Linked DNA regions of Homo sapiens: region 2 is linked to region 1. Evidence: promoter capture Hi-C in human tissues and cell types (Jung and others, 2019). All regions are on one chromosome and are shown on one strand. Each heading gives the region's core, a stretch centred on a gene start or on the middle of the fragment in contact. The rest is flanking DNA. Distances are from core to core; before and after follow the strand shown.

What was found. The method cuts DNA at HindIII sites, captures the fragments that hold promoters and counts their contacts. A contact is called where the count stands out against the background at its distance.
Region 2: a contact is called between a fragment that was not itself captured here and the fragment with the promoter of MYOG in region 1, in 1 of the 25 tissues and cell types used here (thymus).

What each region holds. Positions count from the first base shown.
Region 1 is chr1:203,083,881-203,088,521 of GRCh38, reverse strand. It overlaps MYOG (myogenin), which reads left to right and starts at 2,510. Exons shown (of 3, transcript NM_002479.6): 1 at 2,510-3,031; 2 at 3,794-3,875; 3 at 4,491-4,641. The coding sequence starts at 2,561. The coding sequence ends at 4,612. It overlaps MYOPARR (myogenin promoter associated myogenic regulatory antisense long non coding RNA), which reads right to left. Exons shown (of 3, transcript NR_160550.1): 1 at 4,543-4,641; 2 at 3,949-4,150; 3 at 182-2,039. RefSeq lists an enhancer at 674-1,191. The HindIII fragment of the contact is 26,934 bases long and covers 1-4,641 here.
Region 2 is chr1:203,422,187-203,426,827 of GRCh38, reverse strand. No RefSeq gene overlaps it. Among named protein-coding and RNA genes, the nearest start is that of BMNCR, 17 kb to the right of the region's middle. The HindIII fragment of the contact is 5,786 bases long and covers 1-4,641 here.

The DNA of each region.
Region 1 (4,641 bases), core at 1,261-3,760:
CTACTGGTTTGCAATTGATTAAAGCCCCCATGTTTGCTGTAGAATCAACATAGCTCTCCCTTGTCTTGTAATCCAGCTTTCACATGTCAACCCATGCTCACCAACTAGACAGTAAGGTCTGGAAACCACCATAGAGCAAGCCAGCTCTGCCTCCATTTTAGAGGAAGAAGACACATTATTTAGAGGTAAGTCACACTGGATCCTGGAATAACAAAAGATGCAAATATGGGGGTTCCTATAGTGGCTTCAACATGACTTCTTTTCTCAGGGCTCATAGGACTGGAGGGTAAACTGAGGCTTTTTTTTTCTTTTTTGTTTGGCAGGGGATGTGTTAGAAATAGAGACTCTTCTTCAGCCCAGCTGGTCAGGGGAAAGCAAAGTTTAGAACCCACACAGTACCTATGCTGCTACTTTTTTTTTTTTTTTTTTTTTTTTTTTTTGAGGCAGAGTCTCGCTGTGTCACCCAGACTGGAGTACAGTGGTGCGAACTCGGCTCACTGCAACCTCCTCCTCCTGAGTTCAAGTAATTCCCTGCCTCAGCCTCCCAAGTAGCTGGGATTACAGTGCCCACCACCATGCCTGGCTAATTTTTGTATTTTTAGTAGAGACAGGGTTTCACCATCTTGGCCAGGCTGGTCTTGAACTCCTGACCTCGTGATCCACCCGCCTTGGCCTCCCAAAGTGCTAGGACTACAGGCATGAGCCACCACGCCCGGCCTATGCTGCTACTTTCTATCATGCTGGTAAGGCCAAGAACAGAATTAAGACCTCACTGCTCTCCCTCAACATGCTTAGGGTTCTTTTGTTGTCCAGCTATGTTCCCTCCTTCCCTCCATTTCCTGTCCCAAAAGGACATCAGAATTCTCCTGGCTCCCTGCTGTGAATAATGAGAGGAAGGAACACTGGTTCTTCACATGCCTCGCAGATCTCATGTTCCCTGTGAAGTCTCCCATGAGTCCCCAGCAGGGTTCCCCTTCCTCTTATTGTCCTTGCCACTGGCTTGAACTTGTCAGTTTGATCTGTCGTAGGATAAGGAGCAGGACATTAGTCTATGGGGAGGAAAAAACTGGGAACAAAGGATAAAAGATAGAGGGAGCAGATTGCAGCCCAAAGCTACACGTCAATGGAACGGGCTGTCTCCTGACGTGAGCAGAAGCTGAACAGTAGCCGCCTCGGAGGAGATTTGGGCATCAGGGGCTAGGTAGAAAGAGGTGATCACCGTTGTCTATCAGATGGTAAGTTCGAGGGCAGGGATCCTGTCTGGGGTGTCCCTATAATCCCCAGCCCTAAGACTGAGCCTTGTTCACTGCTAGTGTCTAAGGTCTGCCCACTGCATTGGAAGGAATTTGTCCTCTCAGACCCTGAGGCACCTACTGAGAGGTGACCATGGCCTGAGAGGCCTGAAGATTAAATAGTCCCTGCTCTACCTGACATTTGAGACCTGCATGATACGTGTAAAATTGATGGCTCAGACAGTAAGAGGCAGAACAACCAAGCCCGGTGGCCAAGGAGAGAGGAGATTTAAACTGAGTTTGAAGGGCTCTGTTTTTTCTACTTTTTCACCCCCGTCCACATTAATGAGCCAGGAAAATTCTGGTGTTGGAAAAAGAGTTGAGGAGGTAACATAGAAGGACAGATCAATGGTCCGGAGTGAGACAGGGAGGAGACAGGGAGCTTAGGACATCTTGACCTTGCCGCTCTGGGGAAGGTGGCAACGTGTAGGCTGTAAATTCTAATCTCTGCTCTGACCACGGCTGCTGTATTAAAGAGGAAATTTCTCTTTACCCCTGCCAAGAAAACCAAAACCCAAATAATTTCTCTTGCCTCAATTTACCCCCCCAGATGAGACCTAAGAGAACATACAGCTCAAAGCTGCTTGGGAACCCCAAAAGTGGAATCTGTTAGCTGCTCTGAGTCTTGATCCTTCTTATCCCTGGATACTGAGTGCCCATGAATGCCCAGAATCTGAAGCAGTCCCATTCTTTCCGGAGGGAAGTCTTTAAAAGAGTCTCATCGACTGATGTAGTGTGGTTAAGGTGCTGTCAGGAAGCAAGGAGATGGATAAGTTGGCTCTTAAGGCCCCTTCCAGCCTAAGCCTACCCTTCCTTGTTCCCTCCTCCCCCTATACCCACCAGCTTCTTCGGGACTGCAAGGAGACAGCAGGCAGGCCGCCCAGCTAGGAGTAATTGAAAGGAGCAGATGAGAGGGGAATGTGTCCTCCCCCAACGCCCCTGCCCCACAGGGGCTGCTGAGAAATGAAAACTAATCAAATTACACCCGACGGCCTCCCGACCCGTGCACAGGAGCCCGCCTGGGCCAGGGGCAGGCTGGCAGGGTGGGGTGGGGGCCATGCGGGAGAAAGAAGGGGAATCACATCTAATCCACTGTAAACGCCTTGATGTGCAGCAACAGCTTAGAGGGGGCTCAGGTTTCTGTGGCGTTGGCTATATTTATCTCTGGTTCCATGCCAGCGGGGAGGGTTTAAATGGCACCCAGCAGTTGGCGTGAGGGGCTGCTGGAGCTTGGGGGCTGGTGGCAGGAACAAGCCTTTTCCGACCCCATGGAGCTGTATGAGACATCCCCCTACTTCTACCAGGAACCCCGCTTCTATGATGGGGAAAACTACCTGCCTGTCCACCTCCAGGGCTTCGAACCACCAGGCTACGAGCGGACGGAGCTCACCCTGAGCCCCGAGGCCCCAGGGCCCCTTGAGGACAAGGGGCTGGGGACCCCCGAGCACTGTCCAGGCCAGTGCCTGCCGTGGGCGTGTAAGGTGTGTAAGAGGAAGTCGGTGTCCGTGGACCGGCGGCGGGCGGCCACACTGAGGGAGAAGCGCAGGCTCAAGAAGGTGAATGAGGCCTTCGAGGCCCTGAAGAGAAGCACCCTGCTCAACCCCAACCAGCGGCTGCCCAAGGTGGAGATCCTGCGCAGTGCCATCCAGTACATCGAGCGCCTCCAGGCCCTGCTCAGCTCCCTCAACCAGGAGGAGCGTGACCTCCGCTACCGGGGCGGGGGCGGGCCCCAGCCAGGGGTAAGTGGCCATCCCATCCCCCTGCCCCAAGGGGACGGGGCCAGAGGGAGGCACCTGGACAGCCTCAAGACCCCAAGAGGGGCTCAGAGGGTTGGTGCAGGTGCCAGACAGGGTCGAGGGGCTGCAGGAGCCCTTCCCTGGTCAGAGCTGGGCTATCCAGCTGACCTCCTGTGTCCTGTGTTCTTTCCAGACAAGATAAAGGCAGTGGGGAGGAAGTGCAGAAGGGGTTGGGGTGGGGAACATAGGACTGAAGAAAGATCAGGAGCAAGGCCACAGTCAGCCCAGGTGAGGGTGAGGATTAATCCCAGCGCCTGAGTCAGAGCCTAAAAGGCCAGGCCAAGTTCACCAGAGAAGACTGCTTTGCCCCCATCCTGGGTGTGGCTGAGCAGAGAGAAAACCCACTCAGTCTCATTGGAACTCCAGCAGGCCTGCACAGAGCGACCTTCACTGGGCCACAAAATCTGTCTCCATCACCCTTATCGCCAGAGTCAGGAGAACCAGGGACCCCTTTAAGCTGGTGTCCTGTGAGAGCAGAACCACCACCCAGGATGGAAGCCAGGAAGGCCTGGAAGCAGGGCCTCTGGGGTGTGAGAGGAGCTAGTTACAAAGATTCTGGGGTTGGGGATGGCCTGGGCTGGAAGGCCACAGCCTGTGGCCCACCCTCCAACCCCACCACAGGTACTTCTGCCCACTGGGACTAGGCAGAGAGAGACATCAAAGAATGGCTGTGCCCCGACCTTGGGCCTTCGCCCTGTCTTGCAGGTGCCCAGCGAATGCAGCTCTCACAGCGCCTCCTGCAGTCCAGAGTGGGGCAGTGCACTGGAGTTCAGCGCCAACCCAGGGGGTAAGTAAGGCCTGACTGGTAACCTTGGCTCCAATCCCTCAGTCCCTCCCTGGGCCAGGTTCTCCCCTCTTACCTTATTCCTTGCTCCGGTCCTCTTCCCTTGGGTCTCTCTAGGGACCTGCTGACTCCAAGGCCCAAAGGGTGGGCTGGGAGGTTCTGTGTGCCCCTGCAGTCTTGACCAGCAAAGGAGTGATAGTAGCTCCTGCAGCTCCCCAGCTGATGCCTGGTGGTTGACCTTCTCCACAGAGAGGACAATGTCCCTGCCCCAGGGGTCCCTGTGAAGTGCTGAGTCAGTGCTGCAAAACTGGGCCGAGCAAAGGGCAGGTCCAGTCTCTGGGGAGCTCCATCCTGCTCCAACTTGAGTGGCTGCTTCCAAACCCTACCTACTAGGGGAGTTCAGAAAAGAGGCGCATACACACACACACACACACACACACACACACACACACACTCACAGAGCATGGGGAAAGGCAGGGACTAGGGAGTAGAACTCCGGAGCTTTGTCATTCATCTGTCCTGGAAAACCTCTGTCACCCCAAGGGTCCCATCCTCTATTCTGGGCCTCAAGAACCCCCACTGCTCACCCAGGTACCACCTTCCCACCTCCCCTTACAGATCATCTGCTCACGGCTGACCCTACAGATGCCCACAACCTGCACTCCCTCACCTCCATCGTGGACAGCATCACAGTGGAAGATGTGTCTGTGGCCTTCCCAGATGAAACCATGCCCAACTGAGATTGTCTTCCAAGCCGGGCATCCTTGCG
Region 2 (4,641 bases), core at 863-3,362, 340 kb before region 1:
TGCACTTTTCCAGAAACCAAGAACTGATTGGATGGGGGCTGATCAAAGTGGTATTAGAACCTTACTCCCTGCCTCTTAAATAATGCTCTACCCCTCCTAGCCCCTAACTCCTTGGTCCTGGCCTTTAATAACATGTGAGAAACTGAAGAAGGTCCCCAAAAAGTAATGCGAAGGACACAGAGGTCAGAAGGGGACAGAAGAAGAAAGGGGAGGCTGAGGGGAGGCCAGAAGCCCCGTGACAGATGTGGAGCAAGACATTGACCTGTTGATCCCACCGCCTCAGAGGCCAGCAGGAAGAAATGAGCCGCACTGAGGAAAGTCCACACAGAAAGTGGTTCCCAAGGGAAGGTGAGGGATTCCATCTGGGGGAACAGAAATTAGAATCAGCAACCAAACATGAGTCCAGGTTCTGGGCTCAGACCCTCGTGGACTGCTATTGAGGCACAAATGACAAATCTAAACTGCTATGGAATGGCATGAATGTGGCGATTTGAAGTGTTCTGAAATCTAGGAAAGGGAAGTGGGCAAGCCCCATGGCAGGGCACTCAGAATCTCCAGGAGGCTCTTCTCAGAGAACAAACACCCCACATGAAAACCTATTTGAGAATTACCCACCTAAAATGATGCTGAAGTGTAACTGCCTGAGAATGTTAACAAAAAATGATTTAAACTGAAAAGGTTTTTCATTTTTAGGTGAAGAAACAGATTCAGAGAGGTAAAATGAATTGTCTAAGATCATAGTTAGTGGCAGAACTGGAACTGAAACCTAGGGATATATATTTGTGAAAAGTTTTTTAAAACAGCGTGGCTGAGAACCAACCAATCGCATCAGACTCTCCTGTGTGCCTTGGTAAAATGCAGATTCCTAGACTCCACAGAGCTAGGGAATCAGAGTCCTTGGGGATGAGCCTTGGAAATGTATTCTTTTTTCTTTCCTTACCAAGTTCCCAAGAGCTAGAAAAGGAAATGTATTCTTAATAAGCTCACAAGGTGAGGTGACTCATATGTACATTAAGCTTCAGAGCCAGCAGTTTAGATAGGTTTGCTGATGGTAGACAGATGGAGTCCAAGACCTCTGAAGTGCCTCCCAGTCAAGGAAGCTGGGAATCTATGATGTAGGTACAGCATAGGGTAGCTGCAGCCCCCTCCCCTCTCTTTGTATAGAGGTCATCTCAGGAACTTCCAGGAAGAGTCAAATAAAGAGCTGTCACACACCCTAGAGCTGGAATCTGCACCCTCCACACCAACCCCTTTGCACAGCCTGTCTGCTCTGCATGATCCTGCAGCTGGTTACTGCAGCCTGGAAGAGCTGAGACAGAGAAGACAGACGTGGGGAGGGAGAATAACAATAATAAACAGACCTTAGACAAGAGGCTGCTGCATGGATCTCATTCAGCTGTTTACTCAGGACAATAGGTTATCTTGCGGGGGTCTGTTTTGGCTTGAGTGTGCCCATCAGTCCAGGCCAGCAGGCTTCTGCCCTGTGCCTGTCATTGCCAGGCTGTCAGGAGATGTGTCATAGTTTGCTTTTCTCTGAATTCCAATCACTGTCTACTGTTGCAGCTGAACCTGACTTTTTCAGATGTTGCTCACTGTCTGCTGTTACTGGTCCCCCATCACCTGATCCACTGCACCACAGAGTATGAGTTTGGGCAGGAGGGCAAGTCCACAAACCCAGGCCATGCAAACTGCCCTGTCCATCCTTCCCACTAAGCTCCAACTGAACTAGATGACATCGTCTGCTCCAATTGGGCTGTTTCCAATTCCCCAAACACACCTGGCACCCTCCCATCCCACACTGAGATTTTGCTCTTGCTGTTTCCCCTGCCTGGAAGTCCTTCCCCACATCGTCCAGCATATTCTACTCATTCTTTAGGGCCATGGCAGACATTGCTTGTTGCATAACCTTCATCTCTTCTCCCCTTCTTCATTTACAGTCCATTGATTTTGTTTAAGGAAGGGAGATCAATATGCCATCCTAAAAATATTGCTTCCAGGCTCCCTCGTTGCTAGAAGTGATAATGTAACACAGTTCTAGCCAATGGGATTTATGTATTTACTTATTTTGGAGACAGGGTCTCGCTCTGTCACCCAGGCTGGAGTGCAGTGGCATGATCTCGGCTCACTGCAGCCTCAAACTTCTGGGCTCAAACAATCCTCCCACCTCAGCCTTCCAAGTAGCTGGGACTACAGGCACACGGCACCATGCCCAGCTATTTTTTAATATTTATTTTTATCTTTTAATTTCCTTAAAATAAAAAAGGAAGAGACAGCTGGCCTGTGTCTGGCATGTGTGTTTTGTTTTTCCCCTTCTTGCTCCCTGGAAAGTCTAAGCCTGGGGGTAGAGTAGCCAATTTATAACCAAGAGGATAAAGACCACATGTTAAGGATGCTGGCCTGGAAGACAGAAGGAGCCTAGGTCCTTCATGACATCTTGAGGTTTGCACCGTCCTATCTCCACACTTCTTATAACAAGAGACAAATAAACCTCTATTTGTTTAAACCTCGTAGTCAGGTTTCTGTTACATGCAGCCAAATGCAGTCCTAACCGATACAATGGCTTATCTAAATATATAAATTTATTTATTTATTTACTTATTTAAAGAGAGATGGGGGCTTGTTTTGTGGCCCAAGCTGGTCTTGAACTTCTGGGCTCAAGCAATCCTCCCACTTCTGCCTCCCAAAGTGCTGGGATTACAGGCATGAGCCACCTCACCCGACCTCTCCCTCCATTTCTAATCATCCTGGCTGGATAGGCTCCTTCCTCCCTCTGTGCTCAGTTTGCCCCTAATTCCTCTCCCAGGGCAGTTCTCTCTCTCTTTTTTCTTTTTTTTTTCTTGAGACGGAGTTTCGCTCTTGTTGCCCAGGCTGGAGTTCAATGGCATGATCTCGGCTCACCACAACCTCCGCCTCCCGGATTCAAGCGATTCTCCTGCCTCAGCCTCCCGAGTGGCTGGGATTACAGGCATGCGCCACCATGCCTGGCTAATTTTGTATTTTTAGTAGAGAAGGGGTTTCTCCATGTTGGTCAGCCTGGTCTCGATCTCCTGACCTCAGGTGATCCACCCACCTCAGCCTCCCATAGGTGGGATTACAGGCATGAGCCACCACGCGTGGCCAATTCTCTTTACCTACATGCTCATTGTATATTAGTCTCAGCAACTTCGATGTGAGCACCTTGAAGGAATGAGCCTTCCTCTTCCTGGTAACTCCTCACAGGAGCACCTGATCTTCGGAGATGCCTGGTAGAGATGATTGAAAAGAACTGATCAGCATTGGCCTCTTTCCCCCAAGATCTACCAGGGTCATAGCACTCTGAGGATTATTTTGTGATATTTCCCCCATGGCCTCTCCATCAACTGCCCATACTCCATAAGTTTGTCCCCTGTCCTCTGTCCAGATCTAGACTCCAGGGCAGTGAGGCACAAGGGAAAACTATCCTATCACCTCTTCTATTAATAGAAACAATTAGGAGAGCAGATGTAGCTTGGCCTCCTAAGGGTCCCTCCTTCTGCCCTCCTTAAGACTGTCTGAGGGGAAGGGCAAGTTCTGAGGCTTCTTTAGAACCCCTCCCCCCACCATAGACTCTTGGAGCAGACAGTGTCATCTGGCTCAGTCTCCAGCCTTCAGCCAGGAAAATTCTACAGCTTTCAGAGCAGACAGAGAAGACTCAGTATCTCTTCAACCATCAAGATGGGACAGACTGTAAGAGAGCCCTGGAGGTAAGATGTTGAGGCTGTTTCTAGGCTCGGTGGCAGGCTGCTTGGCATCATGAAGGGGTCAAGCAAGATGCTACTCTGGGATCTATGGTATGTCTCCTTGAAGGTATGTCCTCTATGTAGGACCAGGGCTGGAGGAAGTTCTACATGTTTGTCTTCCCAGTAATCTACAAGCTCCTTCAAGGAAAGGAATGTCTTATTCATATTTGTTTCTCCCACCTAACAGGGCACGTGGCACAAAAAAGATGCCAATAAATATTTGTGGGCAGAAGAGAGGAAGGGAGGCCTTAAGTAAACTCAACCAAATGAGTTGCTAACCAGGATGCAAGCCCTGTCCTTTCCCAGCTCAGCCCAATGTTCTGTTGTGGGACTCCTCTGGCTTCTCCCTTAACCCTTCAGGCCCTAACTCGGACAATACCTCCTCTTTTACTTCTCCCTGCCCTTTTGCATGTCAAAGCAGAATTCATCATTCCGTTCTCCAATGGAATATTGGATATTCCATTACAGCCTTTAATCAACTGGATTGATAGTCTCTGCCTCTTCCTCTTCACCAATAGTCAGGGATGCTAGAGGGAAAGGCTCAGAGCCTGTTCCTCAGACTGGATGCGAGGACCTCCAGGTTACTTGCAGATAACAAAGGTCGCACAGCAAGGTAACTGGGATGAAGGTTGAGGTTAGACAGCTCTTTCCTGGGGTGAGGACGGAGGAGGGGTGAGTGGAGGAAGGTTGCCTTTGAGGAGGGCTGGCAGGACAAACGAGGCTTCTTTAGACCAGTGGGAATGTGCCATCTGGACAGGCTTGTTTTTCCTAAAACTCGTGAGGCAGCTCTTGGCACCAGAAGTCAGAACTGAGCCTGGGAGCAGGATGGAAAAGGTACCTATGCTGTCTCACCTGGGGCTCAGGGCTCCAGCATCATGGAAGG